2 separate regions of the Homo sapiens genome follow, and region 2 is linked to region 1. Evidence: promoter capture Hi-C in human tissues and cell types (Jung and others, 2019). All regions are on one chromosome and are shown on one strand. Each heading gives the region's core, a stretch centred on a gene start or on the middle of the fragment in contact. The rest is flanking DNA. Distances are from core to core; before and after follow the strand shown. Region 1 holds the start of BIRC7 (baculoviral IAP repeat containing 7). Region 2 overlaps YTHDF1 (YTH N6-methyladenosine RNA binding protein F1).

Region 1 (3,115 bases), core at 606-3,105:
TGGGGGATGTCACTTGTACCTCATTAGCATCAAAGGTGAAAAGGGGACAAGGGTGACTGGGGTGCCGGCCAGGATGGGCGAGAATGTTCAGGAAAGGACTGAGCTGGCATTTGCATTGTTCCCAGAGTGAGCAGTGGGGGCCCCCCAGGGCTTGGTACATCTATAGCCCTGGGGCTTCAGGAGCCAGAAGGGCCCCTCCCCAGGTCTCTGCTTCCCCAAGATGGATTCCCAGTGAGAAGAAGAAGGGAGGCTGCCCTAGAAGGCCAGTCTGGGGCCAGGCTTGCTTTTAGGAACTCATGCCTCCCTTTGGGGGTGGGGGACCCGTCATCTCTCTACCTCCTGGCGACCCCGTCCCCTCATCGGCATCCATGCGATACGTCACCTGCCACTGACATCACAGGTTTGGGCTGCATCGGGCACTGGACCTCTACCAGCCCCAAAGACCCCGGCTCTGCACCTGCCATGCCTCTTGCCTGGCCTTTGCCTCCTGAGCCTTGGACTTCCAGGGAGGTGGGTGAGCTGGGCCTGCCCCTTCACGCCACGGCTTCTGACTGTCCCAGCCACTGTCCCCCCGACCAGCTGTCTTAAGTTGGTCCAGCCTTACCAGGATGGTGCCCCGCCAGAGCCCACTGCTGACAATGACCATGGCTGTGCCAGTATTTGTAAAGCCCTCGGTGGGCCCTGCTGCCCTGTCCTTCAGCCAGGAAGTGGCAGAGCTGGGACCTGAACTCAGGTCTGACCACATGGTCTGCAGCTGTAGGGCAGAGGAGCAGGCCCGGGCCAAGACTAGGATAGGTACTCCGGGGACTTGATTCAGTTGGGGAAGACCAGACAGTAGCTGCAGGTTGGGGCCTGGAGAAATTCCCCACAGGCTGAGCATCCAGGACCTTCTGGCTGACCACTGCCTGCCTTGGTCACCCTGATCCTGTTCTTTAAACATCTCCTCTCCCTGTGCAGAACAGCAGCGGGGAAGGTGAGGGCCCCAGGCAATGTCAGCCCCACCCACTTCTATCACAAAGGGGTACTTGTGCACCAAGCTGGCGGCCTCCACAGCTGAGACCCTCAGACTGTGGCCAGAGGCAGCCCCTCCTCACATCCCACGGTCTGAAACACTCAGCCAGCAGAGACTCCGGGGGAGGGTGTCAGGCACGAGCCCATGGGCACTGGAGGGGCTTGCAGGACCACTGCTCCGTCATCAGGCCAGACCCTTCCTGTTGGGGGATGGATGCTACGGAGGAGGCAGAGCCCTGGGCTGGAAGGGTCCAGAATCGTGCCCAGGCCCACGGCAGGAAGGCCCCCCCGCCCGGGACTGACCTGTGTGGAAGAAGCCGGCAGCAGCCAGCAGCTCGGGTGGCACCTCAGCAGTCAGCGGCCAGTCATAGAAGGAGGCCAGACGCAACTCCTCAGAGCCCATGCCGGGGAAGGCAGGCCCCCTGGACAAGGTGGCCCCGGCGCCCTCCTCCTCTTCCTCCTCTGTCAGGGGCCGCAGCTGGCCCAGGATCTGCCCATCCACGTGGTCCCAGGCTCTGCAGGTGTCCAGGCCTAGGACAGGGCTGCCCAGAGAGCGGGGTCCACAGCGCTCCTGCGTGGGACCATCACCGGCTGCCCAGTGGCTCGGCTGTGGTCCACGGTGCAGGCACTTGGCACTGTCTTTAGGTCCCATGGAGGGAACACTGGCTCTGACCAGGTTTGCAGCAGAAATGGGGGCTGATGGCCAATCTCAGAATATGCCCAGCTGGCCCTTCTGGAGCTCCTGACCCCCGGGGCCCACCCTGGGGACAGCAGGGATAGGCACAGGCCTGCCACCAGACACCCTGGGAGGGGAGTATCCCAGGGCCCACAGCTTTCTGGAAGTGGCCAGGGTGGCCTCTGGGGTCACATGCTCTGTGCAGCGGGGGCGTGTCACGGGGCCCCTGGCAGGGTTGCGGATGCCGCTGACTGCACGTGGGCAGGCCACGTCTCTCTGAACAAGACGGGAAGGAACTGAGCATGGAGACCCCTCCCCAGGCTGGTGTCTGCCCCAGGGCTGTGGGGGAGGGGTTGGGGAGCTGGAGATGATGGCTCCAAGGTCAGGCGCCCAGGGCAGCCTCCGGAAGCAGAGAAGGCTCAAGGAAGGACATGTGAGCTGTGCTGCCTGTGCAGGCAGGGGCCGTGACCTCCCACCTTGCGGGGGTGACTCTAGCCTCACAGGGGCCTAGGGCTGCGTCACGCAGAGCAGGGAGGCAGGTCACCCGGCTGTTCTCTGAAACATCCCTCTGCCCCAAGGGGCCTCTGCAGGTCTGGGAGCAGCTCTTGTCCTCAGGCCAGGAAGATCAGAGCAAAAAGAAGGGCCCGAGCTGCCCTCACCTCCCGCTCCCCCTTCCCCCATCTCCCTCCACCTCCCTCCATACCAGCCTCCCCAGGTAGCCAAGGGAGAGGCTCTGATGCCCCCAAAAGAGGAGTACTCAGTGTTGGCACTGGAATCGGAGTTCCTGAGGTCTGCTGTGACCCTGGCTGCCGGTCCAAGCTCCACACTGTGCCACACTGCCAAACCCCACAGTGAGGGAACAGGGAGGAGGACTTAACCCCAGAGAAGCCAGGGGCAGAACAGGAACCCCAGGGACACCTGGGCGGGACAAAAAGGACAGCTGGATGGGGCCCAGACTTCGACACCCCCCAACCCCCGACTGAGCCCTCAACCCCAGCAAACCCAGCTCATCCACCCGGCTGGCCCTAAAAGCCCCCTGTCATCCTTCAGCCACTCTCCCCTGCTGTTCCGTCCTGGATGGGAGCGTGCAGGCTCACAGAGTTTGGAAGAATAAAGAGGAGTCGCACGCTGCAGGGCCGCTGGTTGCCACGGGGAGCGCAGGTGGGCAGGAGAGGGTTAGCTGCAGTGAAAACCGTCCCTGAGCTCACCTGGAAGCCTGGCCCGTTCTCTTCCCACTGCTGAGCCGCATAGACCCAGCTGCTGCCCACCACACTTTCACACCTGCCCCCCGACCCCCACTCACGGCGGGGGCTGGGGCTGCACCCGCCCTCCCAGGAGGCCTCTGGTGACTGTTCTGGTCATACTCAGGCCAGTGTTGCCAGGCCCCAGCGAGACCCCCAACCCTTTCCTATGCAAGGCCCAGAGCCA
Region 2 (5,328 bases), core at 1,414-3,913, 35 kb after region 1:
GAATTCAGAGCCTTGCCAATGATGCTTCGTATTTTGAGACGGCACCCTGGTTTGTGTTCGTTATTAATTTCTCTGTCTTGATTTGGTTCTCACATTGGCGACTACAGCTTTCTTTCTGGAAGGAGTAGCCCCATGCTGTGCAGGTTTTGTTTTTGCTCCACCTGTGCTTAAGCAAGAGGCGGTTGGCATTCTCAGCATCTCGTGTTGTAGAAGTGGTGTAACTTGTCACGTTTGCTTTTGCAGAGTAACAGTTACCCCTCAATGAGCGACCCCTACCTGTCCAGCTATTACCCGCCGTCCATTGGATTTCCTTACTCCCTCAATGAGGCTCCGTGGTCTACTGCAGGGGACCCTCCGATTCCATACCTCACCACCTACGGACAGCTCAGTAACGGAGACCATCATTTTATGCACGATGCTGTTTTTGGGCAGCCTGGGGGCCTGGGGAACAACATCTATCAGCACAGGTTCAATTTTTTCCCTGAAAACCCTGCGTTCTCAGCATGGGGGACAAGTGGGTCTCAAGGTCAGCAGACCCAGAGCTCCGCGTATGGGAGCAGCTACACCTACCCCCCGAGCTCCCTGGGTGGCACGGTGGTTGATGGGCAGCCAGGCTTTCACAGCGACACCCTCAGCAAGGCCCCCGGGATGAACAGCCTGGAGCAGGGCATGGTTGGCCTGAAGATTGGGGACGTCAGCTCCTCCGCCGTCAAGACGGTGGGCTCTGTCGTCAGCAGCGTGGCACTGACTGGTGTCCTTTCTGGCAACGGTGGGACAAATGTGAACATGCCAGTTTCAAAGCCGACCTCGTGGGCTGCCATTGCCAGCAAGCCTGCAAAACCACAGCCTAAAATGAAAACAAAGAGCGGGCCTGTCATGGGGGGTGGGCTGCCCCCTCCACCCATAAAGCATAACATGGACATTGGCACCTGGGATAACAAGGGGCCTGTGCCGAAGGCCCCAGTCCCCCAGCAGGCACCCTCTCCACAGGCTGCCCCACAGCCCCAGCAGGTGGCTCAGCCTCTCCCAGCACAGCCCCCAGCTTTGGCTCAACCGCAGTATCAGAGCCCTCAGCAGCCACCCCAGACCCGCTGGGTTGCCCCACGCAACAGAAACGCGGCGTTTGGGCAGAGCGGAGGGGCTGGCAGCGATAGCAACTCTCCTGGAAACGTCCAGCCTAATTCTGCCCCCAGCGTCGAATCCCACCCCGTCCTTGAAAAACTGAAGGCTGCTCACAGCTACAACCCGAAAGAGTTTGAGTGGAATCTGAAAAGCGGGCGTGTGTTCATCATCAAGAGCTACTCTGAGGACGACATCCACCGCTCCATTAAGTACTCCATCTGGTGTAGCACAGAGCACGGCAACAAGCGCCTGGACAGCGCCTTCCGCTGCATGAGCAGCAAGGGGCCCGTCTACCTGCTCTTCAGCGTCAATGGGAGTGGGCATTTTTGTGGGGTGGCCGAGATGAAGTCCCCCGTGGACTACGGCACCAGTGCCGGGGTCTGGTCTCAGGACAAGTGGAAGGGGAAGTTTGATGTCCAGTGGATTTTTGTTAAGGATGTACCCAATAACCAGCTCCGGCACATCAGGCTGGAGAATAACGACAACAAACCGGTCACAAACTCCCGGGACACCCAGGAGGTGCCCTTAGAAAAAGCCAAGCAAGTGCTGAAAATTATCAGTTCCTACAAGCACACAACCTCCATCTTCGACGACTTTGCTCACTACGAGAAGCGCCAGGAGGAGGAGGAGGTGGTGCGCAAGGTGAGGCTGGGTGTTGCAGGCAACTGCCATGCAGATGTGTCCTTGGTGCCGTACTTAGACCAGGTGGCCCGGTGGTGAGCAGATGCGGCAGGTCCGCCGAGCTGAGTCTCGTGACAGGCAGCTCCCAGTTGGCCGCAGGTGGGCGGGCCCAGGTCCTGGCAGCCTCGTGGGCTTTCCCTGCGGAGAGTACTGCTAGTAACCAGTGATGGTATTTGGGTAGATGTCACCGAACGACTTTGATCACTTTCCAATTATAATTGAATAATTGGGACCACAGTGTACACATTCTGTTTTTCTGTTACAAAGAATTTGAGGGTAACTTTCTCCTCTCCTTTTTGAATTGTGATACTTTCTGGAACAGTGCTTCCCAGCCTCCGTCCATGAGGAACACTTAGGTGATATTCACGAAGCACTGCGGTGGGCACGTAGGGCATCGAGACCCCACCTGGCCAAGGGCCCTTGCTTCCCAGGGCACTGTCCCTCAGTAGTTGGGAATCTCTGGTCTTTGATCTGGAGGTCGTTGCTTTATTTTTCTTTTAAAAACCCAGTATCCTGCAGTTTTTGGAAACAAACTCACTCCATCTAGGTCGTAAAGAAAATGGTGGTGGTGGGGTAGGTTTGGAATCCAGACATTTTATAATGACAAATATGGATCCTATATCAAAAATTCATTGACTGGGCCTTTTTGAGACAGTCCTGATTTCCTGGGATACTTGTAGCCAAACTCCTGAGTCTGTGCTGTCATGTGATGTCTGACGGGATTGAGTGTGTTTGCTCTTCAGAAGGGCTCAGATGCCCGTAAACTGGCACCAGCAATGGGAAAATGATGATGCTGACATACTTCATAATGCTTCCTTTATTCGAGAGAGTTCATCCTGAGATTCTCTCCTGCTTTTTAAAAAATATCCCTTCCTGAAATGTCAGTTGATAATAGATGGGTTTTCAGTGTTTTTTTCAGTTCTCTATGTTAAAGGAATTATTCACCTGTGAGCACCAAGTGTCCTAATGTATTTTGGGCAGAAAGGCGTGTACATGGCATATATAGGGATGTATAGAGTAGAGCCGCCTGCACTGTCTGCAGTCTTACATTATGCAAGTCCTGAACAACTTGGGGCTTGTAGAACTTTGGAAAAGTATCAGTCCCTCTCTTTTGTGAGAAAAGAAGTGGATGTCATTTATTTCCAGTTACTGAATTCTGAATTAGTTACTGAAATTCTGTGTTTTAGGTCTTTTTTTTTTTTTTAAATGGAGTTTTGCTCTGTTGCCCAGGCTGGAGTGCAGTGGCGCAATCTCGGCTCACTGCAACCTCCACCTCCTGGGTTCGAGTGATTGTCCTGCCTTAGCCTTCCAGGTAGCTGGGATTACAGACAATAGCTCGGATTACAGACTTTTAGGTATAAAATGAATACTGAATTGCTAAAGTTGCAGGGATAATTGCTAATGAAGCTTTAGGTCCTTAGCTGGCTAAACTGGAAGCTGGCTGTGTGTGTGTGCGCGCACAGTTTTTCTTCTTAAATACCGTAATACTTGGGTTTTCATAAAGTGTGCGGACTCCTGACCTGGTTGGTGTTTTTAAAACTCTAGTGTCCTACAACTTGCATTATAAAAACTTGATCTAGATAACTGCTTTTGTGTGTCGGGTTATGGGTTAAGCATCTTGGTAAGCGGCCTGCAGGGTCTGTGGGCATCTGCCTGCAGGCAAGATCCAAGTGTTCCTCAAACCACTGGGTGCTCCAAGGCGAGTCCAACAGAGCCGCTGGTGGAGCATCATTGGAAGGAACTTGGTAACCCTCCCCTAAACTGTTAGCCAAGCTGGAGAACTCTGGGCCCATATGGGTCAGTGTTAACATTAATTCATTTTATTGAAAGTGACAAATGAGAACCTGGTTTGTTAATGTTTGGTGGAATTTCAAATAGCTTTTTTTTTTTTGAGCCAATCTCACCGTCAGCCAGGCTGGAGTGCAGTAGTGCAATTTTGGCTCACTGCAACCTCAACCTCCGAGGTTCAGGCCATTTTCCTGCCTCAGCCTCCCAAGTAGCTGGGATCATAGGCGCCCACCACTGCACCCAGCTAAATTTTGTATTTTTAGTAGAGATAGGGTTTCACCATGTTGGCCAGGCTGGTCTCGATCTCTTGACCTCAAGTGATCTGCCCACCTCAGCCTCCCAAAGTGCTGGGATTACAGGTGTGAGCCACCGTGCCCCGCCTCAAATAGCTTTTTGTTTTTGTTTTTGAGACAGGTCTTTCTCCGTCTGCCGGGCTGGAGTGCAGTGACTTAATCACAGCTTGTTGTAGCCTTGACCTCCTGGGCTCAAGCGGTCTTCCTGCCTCAGCCTCCTGAGTAGCTACAGGCGTGCACCACCACGCCTGGCTAATTTTTGTATTTTTTTGTAGAATCAGTGTCTTGCTATGTTGCCCAGGCTGGTCTTGAACTCCTGGGCTCAAACAGTCTTCCCACCTTGGCTTCACAAAGTGCTGGGATTATAGGAATGAGCCACTGTGCCCGGCGTCAAATATCTTTTAAGCTTATTGGGCAGTGTAGAGAAATGGAAGTGGTCCTTGAGGAGGTCCCCAGACTGGACTTCGCTGCTGGCTCTCCCTGCCTGCGAAGGTGCTCTAGGCCTTGTGCTTAACGGGCTGGGCTAGTGGCTCATCCAGGATTGGAGTCTTAGGTGTCTTGAGGCTGAGACTCTGGGTGTCTAATGCTTTCTCCCTCTGGGTTTCCCATGAAGAGTCAGTGCAGTTTTGTTTTGTTTTTTTTTTTTTTAAGACAGAATCTTGCACTGTTGCCCAGTCTGGAGTGTAGTGGTGTGATCTCGGCTCACTGCAAGCTCTGCCTCCTGGGTTCACACAATTCTCCTGCCTCAGCCTCCCGGGTAGCTGGGACTACAGGCCCTTGCCACCACGCCCAGCGAATTTTTTGTGCTTTTAGTAGAGATGGGGTTTCACCGTGTTAGCCAGGATGGTCTCGATCTCCTGACCTCGTGATCCGCCCGCTTTGGCCTCCCAAAGTGCTGGGATTACAGGCGTGAGCCACTGCGCCCGGCCGAGTCAGTGCAGTTTTAAGAACAAAGTAGTGTGCCGAGGAGAGGGTTGTGCGCCTGTGCTGGTAGAGCCCCCGGGCGGTTTTCTCAAGGTTCTCTCAGGACTTCGAAGAACAGACCCACCTTTTCTTTATCATTTAGAGTTTGGCCCCATTGCTGTAAAGGTCATAAACAAGTTGAGTGTTGAGAAAGTGAAGTAGAGTTAGCATTTTGCAAGATTGCTGTCCAGCTATAAATTTAGAAACATACTGATTTCTTAGGATGGCAGTAGCTTTTATGGCAGCAGAGTCAGACCAAGTCCTGGGTTGATACATTTTTTGGTTTTAAAAAAACCTAGAAACGGCCACTTCTTAGCTTAAAACAGTGAAAGTGGTGAGCGTCCCACACTGTGAGCATTGCTTAGTTCCTCAGACTGACTGTCCTTGCCCTGGCGGCAGGTGCCCCTGACCTGACCCCACTTCGACCTCCAGGCCGGCTCAGCAGAGTGGCTCTTTGACTTTGGAAATTAAGAAAGAGCAT

The links. Contacts are between HindIII fragments. The study calls those that stand out against the background at their distance.
Region 2: a fragment that was not itself captured here is called in contact with the fragment with the promoter of BIRC7 in region 1 in 2 of the 25 tissues and cell types used here (H1 embryonic stem cells and ovary).

What each region holds. Positions count from the first base shown.
Region 1 is chr20:63,234,645-63,237,759 of GRCh38, reverse strand. It overlaps BIRC7 (baculoviral IAP repeat containing 7), which reads right to left and starts at 1,855. Exons shown (of 7, transcript NM_139317.3): 1 at 1,315-1,855. The coding sequence starts at 1,663. RefSeq lists enhancers at 1,971-2,090, 2,438-3,039. The HindIII fragment of the contact is 26,367 bases long and covers 1-3,115 here.
Region 2 is chr20:63,198,723-63,204,050 of GRCh38, reverse strand. It overlaps YTHDF1 (YTH N6-methyladenosine RNA binding protein F1), which reads left to right. Exons shown (of 5, transcript NM_017798.4): 4 at 244-1,764. Among named protein-coding and RNA genes, the nearest start is that of YTHDF1, 15 kb to the left of the region's middle. RefSeq lists enhancers at 3,529-4,130, 4,131-4,730. The HindIII fragment of the contact is 5,570 bases long and covers 1-5,328 here.